Linked DNA regions of Homo sapiens: region 1 is linked to region 2. Evidence: promoter capture Hi-C in human tissues and cell types (Jung and others, 2019). All regions are on one chromosome and are shown on one strand. Each heading gives the region's core, a stretch centred on a gene start or on the middle of the fragment in contact. The rest is flanking DNA. Distances are from core to core; before and after follow the strand shown.

The links. Contacts are between HindIII fragments. The study calls those that stand out against the background at their distance.
Region 1: a contact is called between a fragment that was not itself captured here and the fragment with the promoter of PLEKHJ1 in region 2, in 2 of the 25 tissues and cell types used here (lymphoblastoid cells and mesenchymal stem cells).

The regions. Positions count from the first base shown.
Region 1 is chr19:2,756,047-2,761,091 of GRCh38, forward strand. SGTA (small glutamine rich tetratricopeptide repeat co-chaperone alpha) reads right to left here. Exons shown (of 12, transcript NM_003021.4): 9 at 3,211-3,248; 10 at 1,647-1,736; 11 at 1,291-1,411. The coding sequence ends at 1,297. Among named protein-coding and RNA genes, the nearest start is that of SLC39A3, 19 kb to the left of the region's middle. The HindIII fragment of the contact is 7,304 bases long and covers 1-5,031 here.
Region 2 is chr19:2,234,659-2,239,548 of GRCh38, forward strand. It overlaps PLEKHJ1 (pleckstrin homology domain containing J1), which reads right to left and starts at 1,671. Exons shown (of 6, transcript NM_018049.3): 1 at 1,497-1,671; 2 at 1,265-1,332; 3 at 1,104-1,170. The coding sequence starts at 1,590. SF3A2 (splicing factor 3a subunit 2) reads left to right here and starts at 2,166. Exons shown (of 9, transcript NM_007165.5): 1 at 2,166-2,243. MIR6789 (microRNA 6789) reads right to left here and starts at 1,268; the gene lies at 1,171-1,268. RefSeq lists enhancers at 1-475, 478-1,086, 1,695-2,303, 1,882-1,931 and silencers at 1,112-1,741, 2,352-2,451. The HindIII fragment of the contact is 10,839 bases long and covers 1-4,890 here.

The DNA of each region.
Region 1 (5,045 bases), core at 130-2,629, 520 kb after region 2:
ATTTCAACGAACGTCAGAGCCACAGCTGCACCAGAAGCGTTCCACACACTCGGGGCCACGTGTGGCTGGTGGCGCAGAGAACATCGCCATGACCTAGAAGGGTCTACAGTATGGTGGTACTTTGTGTATGAGGTTACGGTGGTAAAAAATCCACCTCAACTATTAAAAAAAGAAAAGGAAAAATAAATAAAAGCTTATTTAAAAAAAAAAGGGAAGACTGGAAGAAAAGGCGGCCAAAATATTAATGTTGGTGGCTCTGGGTGAGAAGATTAAGGTTGGGCTGAATGCACGGCTCACACTTTGGGAGGCCGAGGCGGGAGGATCGCTTGAGCCCAGGAGGTTGAGGCTGCAGTGAGACGTGACTGCACCACTGCCCTCCAGCCGGGGGGACAGAGCAGGACGGTCTCAAAAAAAAAAAAAAAAGATTAAGATTGTTCTTGCTGCTTTTTAACATTTTTGTATTTTAAATTTGTCTACAGTAATTATGGTTTAAAAATGAAAGAGAGTGTATATGAGGAGGGGACAACGACAAAATGAAGAGGCCACATGGGAGCAGAATGGAAACACCTCTGGGGAGGCCCGGAGCCTCCCGCCCCCAGGGAGCCGGCGTCTGCTGGAGACAGACAGGACTGAACTCAGGGGAGCCTCCCACCCCTGGGAAGCCGGTGTCTGCTGGAGACGGACAGGACTGAACTCAGGGGCCCCTGGGGAAGGAAACCAAGCCAGCCACGGGCCCCTGGAACCCATGGGGGACACTGAGTGTATTTTTAAACAACTGTAAGTGCAACACCTGCTCACAGTGAGAAAAGGACAAAAAATCCCTCACAAAATGCAGGCAGAACGCTCGGGCGCAGTCAAAGGCAGGTACCCGGCTTGTCCTTTCCACCACTCGATGACCTCGCCCCCACCCCCGAGGTGGCAGCCCCGACACTGCAGAAACAAAGAGCTTCTGCAGGCGGCCTTAGGCAGGGGGGACCCCAGACACCAGCCCTTCCAGGGAGCTGTGGCTCTCCCCTAATCTCCACCCAGCGCCGATCCACAGATGGGAAAGGAGTGGGGAGCAGGACTTGGTGGCCACCTGGAAAGGGGCCCAATGCCCAGAGATGCCCCCACCTGCCTGGGCGGTTCAGGGTGATCTTCTGAGCTGGATGCACCCAGGACTCGCTGTCCAGTGTCCAGACAGGCTCCACAGCCCCCGGGCGTCACTCCTGCTGGCTGCCCTCACTGCCAGGCACTCACGTGGTGTCACTCCTGCTGGCCACCCCCCAGCCCCCGGCCCCATGCACTCACGCAGCGTCACTCCTGCTGGTCGTCGTTGCTGGCGCTGGGCGTCCGACTCCGGATCTGGCTCCTGAGCTGCTCTATCAACTCTGGGTTCTGCTGCTGCATCTGCTGGGCAAACTGCTGGCCCCTGCGGGGAAGGGCACATGGGGCTCAGCCAGGGCCAGGAGGCTGCCTGCTGCCTCCGTCCATCCCCAGCTGACCCCTCGGGCCCTCCACCCCAAAGACAGGCCTGACCCCTCGCTGGAGGACGCTGGGCCCTTCGGAGCAGGGGACGCAGCACTTTCGCTCTCCTCCTTCCCTTCCGCCTGCGAGCCCTGCCCGCCGCCCACGTCCTCCGTCCTCTTGGAAGCAGTTCCACTCACGCCTGGATGAGGCTGGCCAGGTCGTTCTGCGAGGGGCTGGTGCCGGGAGTTCCCAAGGGGTTGTTGCCACCCGAAATCATGCCGGACATGCTGCAGGAGAGAGCGCGTGACTCGCAGCCGGGACAGCCTGACCGCCACCCCCACTGCAGGCCCTCGCAGTGGCCCGGGAGAGAATCCCTCTCAGCCCTTCACCTTCCCCTGCAGGAGAGGATTCTCTCTCACCACCTGGTGGGCCTCCAGGGCCCAAACCCACCCTGTGACTTTCACCTGCTTTCCCAGAACACCCCTCTTTCTTTGGCCTAAAGAGCGTAGTTCTCAGCCAGGGGGTGATCCTGCCCCCAGAGGACCCCTGCAATGGCAGCGGACATTTGCAACAGCCATGATTGGGTTACGCCAAGACAGGGGCAGGGGGTGCTCCTGGCATGGAGTGGATGGAGGCTAGAGACAGTGCTCAGCACCCTGCAGTGCCCAGGACGGCCCTGCTCCAGAAACTGGTCCAGCTCAAATGGCCACGGTGCTGTGGCTGGGAAACCATGCTTTAAGATTTGACCGTGGGCCAGCCGCGGTGGCTCACACCTGTCATCCCTGCACTTTGGGAGGCTGAGGCGGGTGGATCACCTGAGGTCAGGAGTTCAAGACCAGCCTGGCCAACATGGTGAAACCCCATCTCTACTAAAAATGCAAAAATCAGCCGGGCATGGTGGTGGATGCCTGTAATTCCAGCTACTTGGGAAGACCCACTTGATCCCGGGAGGCAGAGGTTGCAGTGAGCCAAGATTCTGCCACTGCACTCCAGCCTGGGTGACAGAGCAAGATTCTGTCTCAAAAAAAAAAAAAGGAGAAAGAAAAAAAGATTTCACCATGAAAACAGGTGAGCAGCTCCCCAGTGCGCACAGCGCTTACTGGGGAGTGACCCTATGAGCCAGCGAGTGCACTCAGAAGTTTATATCCAAGAGAAACGAAAACAGGATTCACACAGACGATTGCACACCCGTGCTCAAGCAGCACCGTTCACAACAGACAAAAGGTAGAAACAGCCCAAATGTCCATGGATAGATGTGTGGATCAGCACAGCGTGGTCCCTCCACACTGGAATATTACTCAGCCATGAAAAGGAGCGAGGCCCTGACCCAGGCCCCAGCACACATGCACCTTGAGGACGTCACGCTCAGTGAGAGACGCCAGACACCAAAGTTCACGCAGTGTGTGATCCCATTTCTACGAAATGTCCAGGACAGGCCCATCCACAGAGACAGGAAGGGGATGCGTGGTTGTCAGGGGATAGGAGAGGGGTTGGGGAGTGACAGCTGAGGGGGAAGGGGCTTCTTTCGGAGGTGATGAAGATGGGTTGGTGCTCAATGGTGGTGACAGTTGCATGACAGTGTGATGGTGGTGACAGTTGCATGACAGTGTGATAGTGGTGACAGTTGCATGACAGTGTGAAAGTCCTTAATGCCATTAAGTTGCACACTTTAAAGTGGTTAGTTTTATGTTAAGTGAATTTACCCACAATAAAAGGAAATTTAACCACAACAAGACCCGAAGAAACCCGGTTGTCACTTACAGCTGCTGAATCTGGGGATTGTTCATTAGGTTCGAAGCCTGAAGAACAGAACAAATTTGTCAGGAAGACAAAGCTCCCAGCGCATCATTCTCTTTCATCAGACACTTTCCATCTTAACCAGCCTTGGTTCTGGACTCCAGCACGCCAACCAACAGTAAGAGCCGGGCATTCGGTCTTTCATACCCTTTTCCCTACATTTTCGCCCCCCCACCCACGAGCTGTGACCTCCACATTGTGACTTAAATCCTGTTTTGGGTTCCTGCTTCAGGAGCGATCTCGCAGCGCCACAGCGCTCTCTCACTGGCTGCTGCGGTTTTGCTGTGTGGAGGCGTTTTGGTTCTTTATTTTAGCTGCTGTCTGCTTTAGCATATTTCATTTAGCATATTTGGTTCCAGTTTTGCTCTATCAATAAATAGCACTGTGGCTGGGCGCGGTGGTTCACGCCTGGAATCCCAGCACTTTAGGAGGCCGAGGCAGGCAGATCGCTTGAGGTCAGGAGTTCGAGACCAGCCTAACCAACATGGTGAAACCCCGTCTCTACTAAAAATATGAAATTAGCCAGGTGTGGTGGTGCATGCCTGTAGTCCCAGCTACTTGGGAAACTGAGGCACAAGAATCGCCTGAACCTGGGAGGGGGAGGTTGCAGTGAGCCGAGATCACACCGCTGCACTCCAGCCTGGGTGACAGAGTGAGACTCTGTCTCAAAAAAGAAGTAAAAATAAATAAATAAATAAATAGCACTATACTGGGCACTTTCTCATGTTAACTTTCCACTTGGGATTATTCCTTTGGACCTGTTGAAAGGAGGTGGCTCAGAGGTGTGGCAAACTCTCTGTGTAAAGGGCCAGTGTGTAAATACTCTCAGCCTTTTCAGACACGGGTGCCTGACGCAACTACTCAGCTCTGCCGCCGTATCATGAAAGCCACCAGTGACACTAGGTGTATGAATGGGCATGGCTGTGTGCCAATAAAACTTTATTGGTCAGGTGTAGTGGCTCACACCTGTAATCCCAGCACTTTGGGGGGCCGAGGCGGGTGGATCACAAGGTCAGGAGTTCGAGACCAGCCTGGCAAACATGGTGAAACCCCATTTCTATTAAAAAATACCAAAATTAGCCAGGCATGGTGGTGGGCACCTGTAATCCCAGCTACTCGGGAGGCTGACGCAGGAGAATCGCTTGAACCTGGGAGGCGGAGGTTGCAGTGAGCTGAGATCACACCACTGCACTCCAACCTGGGCGACAGAGCGAGACTCCATCTCAAAAAAAAAAAAAAAAAAAAAAACCAAAAAAAACTTTATTAACAAAACCCAGCGGCGGGCCTTATTCTGCCAACCCCAGATGTCTGAAGGGAAAAGGCGTCTGTGACATGGCCAAGCTGAGAGGCCCCTTGAAAGACTGGGGCCCAGTCACCCTCCATCCCATGGTGAGGGAGAACATATTCCCCTGGCAGCTTGGCCAGCGGACGAGGGCTACAGTAAGAGGTGTGGCCTCTGCTGAATGGCACGACCCGGGCAGGGCTCCTGGCCCAGCTGGCTCATTTTTCTGACTGACAGTGAGACTGAGGGCTTTTCTCCCCGACAGCCTTAGGCGAGTCCCTGTACCCTGAGGCTGTGGGAGCCTGAAGAGTGGTCCCAGGGCACACAGACCTCCCAGGAAATGAACATGTGTGTGTGGGGGATGGCTCTCCGAGGATCCCAGTCAAGGAACTCCCTGCCAAAGGCCGTCCCTTTGGAAGCATGAGTGCCCGGGCATCGGGAGGTCCACCTGCGCCCGGCGCACCCGGCGCTCTGCTTCCCTTGCCTGAACCTTAGGAGGCAGACGCTGCTGTGTTGT
Region 2 (4,890 bases), core at 421-2,920:
TGATCACGCCACTGCACTCCAGCCTCGGAAACAAAAGATCCTGTCTCAAAAATAAAGAGGGCCGGGTACGGTGGCTCAAGACCGTAATCCCAGCACTTTGGGAGGCCGAGGTGGGAGGATCACCTGAGGTCAGGAGTTCGAGAGCAGCCTGGCCAATATGGCGAAACCCCGTCTCTACTAAAAATACAAAAATTAGCTGGGCATGGTGGCGCGTGCCTGTAGTACCAGCTACTCGGGAGGCTGAGGCAGGAGAATCACTTGAACCCGAGAGGGGGAAGTTACAGGGAGCCGAGATTGCACCACTGCACTCCAGCCTGGGCGACATACCAAGACCCTGTCTCAAAAAATAAGCAAATAAAATAATAAAGTGAAGTAAAAAGGGGTTGTCAGGGTGGGCCCTAAATTCTGCTTGGCGTCTGTGTAGAAGGGGAAATGTGGGCACAGACGTGATGCAAGGAGGACAAGGTGACGCTTCCACAAGCCAAGGAACCTGGAGGATACTGGCCACCACTAGGAACTGGGAGATTCCCCTCGGCCTCAGAAGGATTCGGCCCCACCCACACCTTCATCTAGGATTTCTGGCCTCCAGAACTGTAGAGAATGTTTCTGATATTTAAGCCACCTGGCCTGTGGAATTTTGACAGCCACTCTGGGCAAACTAGCAGGGACTCCATCTTTCCCCGCAGAAGGGAATCTCTTAAGACCCAGGAGAACACCCCCCTCTCACTCCTCCTACCCCCACCTGGGATTTCCAGCCCGGGGCCATATAACAATGCTAGACCCATGCTACTCTTGGCAGCTGGGGAAACGCTTTGGGTGGGGCTGGCCCACCTGCCCTGTAAGTACAGCCTGGGCCCACAGGGAACAAAGAGCAGAGTCTGGGAGGGACCCAAGCTTAAGTGGACTCGGCAGGTGGGAAGGGTGGTGCCCGCCAGGAGAACTTGACCTTGAGCTGCCCGTGGACAATGCACTCTTGTGTTTGAGGAGGGTGGCGCCAGGCTGGGGACACAGAGGAGACCTTGGGCGCCCGGGGAGGGGAAAGTGCGGCGCTGCGGGTGCCCCGGGCTGCGGGAAGCGCCGCTGGCTTCCCTAGCCCCACTCACTGATGGAGAAGGTGCCGGGCTCTTCCCGGACGACTCTGCAGCGCTCCAGCAGCAGGGCTCCGACGGGCTGGAGGAGACACGGGCGCCGGGACGGGGCAGTGAGCACCCGGCCTCCGAGGGGCCCAGCCTGGGACCCGCCCGCGCGCCCGGGACGCCCCTACCTCGGCCTCGTCTGTCCGAAAGTAGAAGAGGAAATTCACCACCAGCTTCACCAGCCGCCGCTTCAGCACTGCGGGCACAGCGCGCACTCAGGGGCGCAGGCAGCCCCCGCCCGGACCCCGGCCTCCCGTCCCCGGCGCCCCGACCCGGACTCCGGCCTCCGGCACCCCCGCCCAGACCCCGGCCCCGGCCTCCCGCCCCTGGCACTGTCTCGGTCTCCCGGGTCCCGCTCACCGCTGCCCTTCTTGGGGCCCCTCATGCCCAGCTCGGCCGCCATCTCGGCCGGCTGCCGGGACAGAGCCTGCAGCTCCTTCTCGTTGTACCGCATGGCTCCGCGGGGAACGGGAACCCGGGCCGCGCCCTCCCGGCCGCCGTCCCCGCTCAGGCTGGGGCCGGCGCCAAAAATGTCTCAGGGCGCAGACACGGAAGCACCCCCAGGGCTAGTGCGCCTGCGCACCTTGGGCCAGCCATGCCGCCCGCCTCCGCTGCGTGGCGCTGGCGACCCGTGGCTGCTGGCGTGGGCGGGGTACCGGTTGGTAGGAGAGACGGACCGTTGTTACATAACCATTAAACTGAAATAAACCGGACCAAGGTGGAACAGAATCAAGGCACCCCAGCGATGGCTGGCACCCCTTTCTAGAGCGGCCAGGCGCAGGCGGAGGGAGCGATAACGTCGCCCGGAGAGTGTCAGCCGCTCCCTCGCGAAAGTTGGCCCCGTGCGGCCGCAGCGGACCGAGGGTTCGTTGAGAGCGTTGTGCGCACGCGCAGTTTGCCTTCCAGGCCGCGCTTTCAGCCTCTCCCCCTCCAGCCTTTTCCTTCGCGCCTCGGGACCCTCTGACTCACGCCGCTGGGCGGGCCAGGCATGCGCACACCAGAGGGCCCGTCTCATTTGCCCCGGAAGTGCTTTCTTTGCCCGCCGTTCGCCAAACGAAGTCGTGGAGGTGGCGAAACGAGGAGGAGATAACGCGGCCTTGGGCTCTGGTGAGGAGTAGAGGCGGTTGAGGGCGGCGGCCGACGCGGACCGGGGGTTCCCTGGGGGACAGCGGACGTAGGAGAGAGGCGCTTGCGACAGGCCGCGGGCCGAGGGTGGGGCGGCGGCGTCGCTCCCCTCCCTCCTCCCGTGAGCGTCCGGCCTTGTGCATCCTGAGGCCCCGCGCTGGGCGGGCCTGGAGGGTCGGGCCCGCCAGGAACTCTATTTCCAAACTCCTGTTGGGAGGCCGCGCGCGGGGCCTCACGCCTGTAATCTCACTGCTCAGGGAGGCCTTGGCGGGAGGATCGCTTGAGGCCAGGAGTTCGAGACCAGCCTGGACAACACACCGAGACCCCCATCTCTACAAAAAATTTTAAAAAATTAGCCAGGAGTGGTGGTTGTACCTGTAGGCCCAGCTACTCGAGAGGATCGCTTGAGCTCGGAATGTCGAGGCTGCAGTGAGCCATGATCCCACCACTGCACTCCAGCCTGGGCAACATAGCGAGACCCCATCACTGCAAAAAAAAAAAAAAAAAAAATTAGCCGGGCGTGGTTGGTGACGCGCGCCTGTAGTCCCAGCTACTCTGGAGGCTGAAGCGGGAAGATCGCTTGAGTCCAGGAGGTCGAGGCTGCAGTGAGTTGTGATTGTGCCGTTGCACTCCAGCCTGGACAACAGAGCAAGACCCTGTTTGACAAAATAAAAAAGAAACAACCAAGATTCGTTGGGGTCGAATCGGGATCGCGGCTGAAATGGTTTCGGCCGCCTTCCTTGTAGCCGAGAACGCTTCTGTATGCTCATCTATACCTGTTAGTTGACTGGGGCTCTGTGATGTAATTCCTGTGAGCCTCAGTTCCCTTAAAATGGGAGTGACGGCTTCAACATCATGCCAAAGGCGACCAGAACACGTTAGCTGGCCCCATTTTGCAGGTGCACCCCGCTGTGACCGTTGTTCTTGTGTATCCTTGGACGACACCAAACAGCCAGGCGGAGCTCTGGAAAATAGGTTGTTGGCTAGGTTAAGGAGAGAACGGTGTTGCCACGAAAAACTAATTCCTTCTCAATGGTCTAGTCCCAGGTCCCAGAGGCCACTTTTCCTCAATTCTTAAGCTCATTTCCCCTGGTCGTCATCGGTTTTTTGTTTGTTTTGAGACAGGGTCTTGCTCTGTCACCCAGGCTGGAGTGAGTGCAGTGGTGCAATCACAGCTTACTCCAGCCTCAAACTCCCATGCTCAAGCCATCCTCCTGCCTCAACCTCTCGAGTAGCTGGGATCACAGGTGCTCACCACCATGTCCGGCGAATTTTTGTATTTTTTGTAGAGACGAGGTTTCGCCATGTTGCCCAGGCTGGTCTCGAACTCCTGACCAGGTGATCCACCTGCCACGGCCTCCCAAAGTGGTAGGATTACAGGCATGAGCCACTGCACCCGGCTAATTTTTGTATTTTTTGTAGAGATGGGGTTTTACCAGGTTGGCCAGGCTGTCCCCTGATCTTTACCTTAGTAAGTAACAGATTTCTTCATGGATTTATCAATTTGTAGACATCATCTGCTGATTTCTTGTCACGGCTGTTGAGATCTTCTCCCTCCCATCCACCCACTGCACCTTCACCTTCCATATCCTGAATGAGTTTATGTCATGAGCATAGTTGGTCATTGGTTGTGTTTTCTAAATAAGATGCAAAATATTGTTGGCTGCTAAAACAAGTAATATGTTCAGCTAGGCTTTTCTTGTACCATTCTATCTTCCCTTAAAGCTAATTAACTTTGTTTTTACCATGAGCCTGATTTTCTTTTACCTGCTGTTTGTTTTTTCCCCACAAAGCTCCCACCTCTCACACACCTATCAGTTGTATTTTGCATAGGTTTAAATAAATTGATCTCCCCTCACCACTTCCCTCCAAGACCCCCTTATCCTCCTCCTCCAAATGGGACTGGTTGTGCTCTGACCTGGAAGTGGAGCTGTTGTCCCAAACCTTCCTGTCCTTGCTCCCCTGTGCTGACCTCTGTTTCCAGTGTGGTCATCTCTTTCCCTTCATGCTGTCCGAGCAAAACTTCTGGGAGCTTTTGAAGAAACAGATGATTTTTTTCGGGGGGTGGGGGAAGTCCTTGATTGTCTGAAAACGAGTTTATTTACCCTCATAGTTAGAAGTTTGGTGGGGTATAAAAATCTAGATTGAAAATCTGTATTTGTAGGCCGGGCGTGGTGGCTCACGCCTGTAATCCCAGCACTTTGGGAGGCTGAGGCGGGCGGATGACCTGAGTTTGGGAGTTTGAGACCAGCCTCGCCAACCTGGCGAAATCCCATCTCCACTAAAAATATAAAAATTTGCCAGGCGTTTTGGCATGTGCCTGTAATCTCAGCTACTCGGGAGGCTAAGGCAGGAGAATGGCTTGAACCTGGGAGGTGGAGGTTGCAGTGAGCCAAGATCGAGCTACTGCCTGGGCGACAGAGCGAGAATCCGTCTCAAAAAAAAAAAAAAAAAAAGAGAGAGAAAAAAATCTGTATTTGCTCAGAACTGTGAAAGCATTGTTTTCAGTGCTGTTCTCAAAAGATCAGTTCCTATGCTGGTTTCTGATGTTTTCTGCTCAGTTGTCTTTCTGTCTAGTAGAAGCTTAACATCTTCCTTGGTGTCGTAAAATTTCCTGATTTCCTCATTT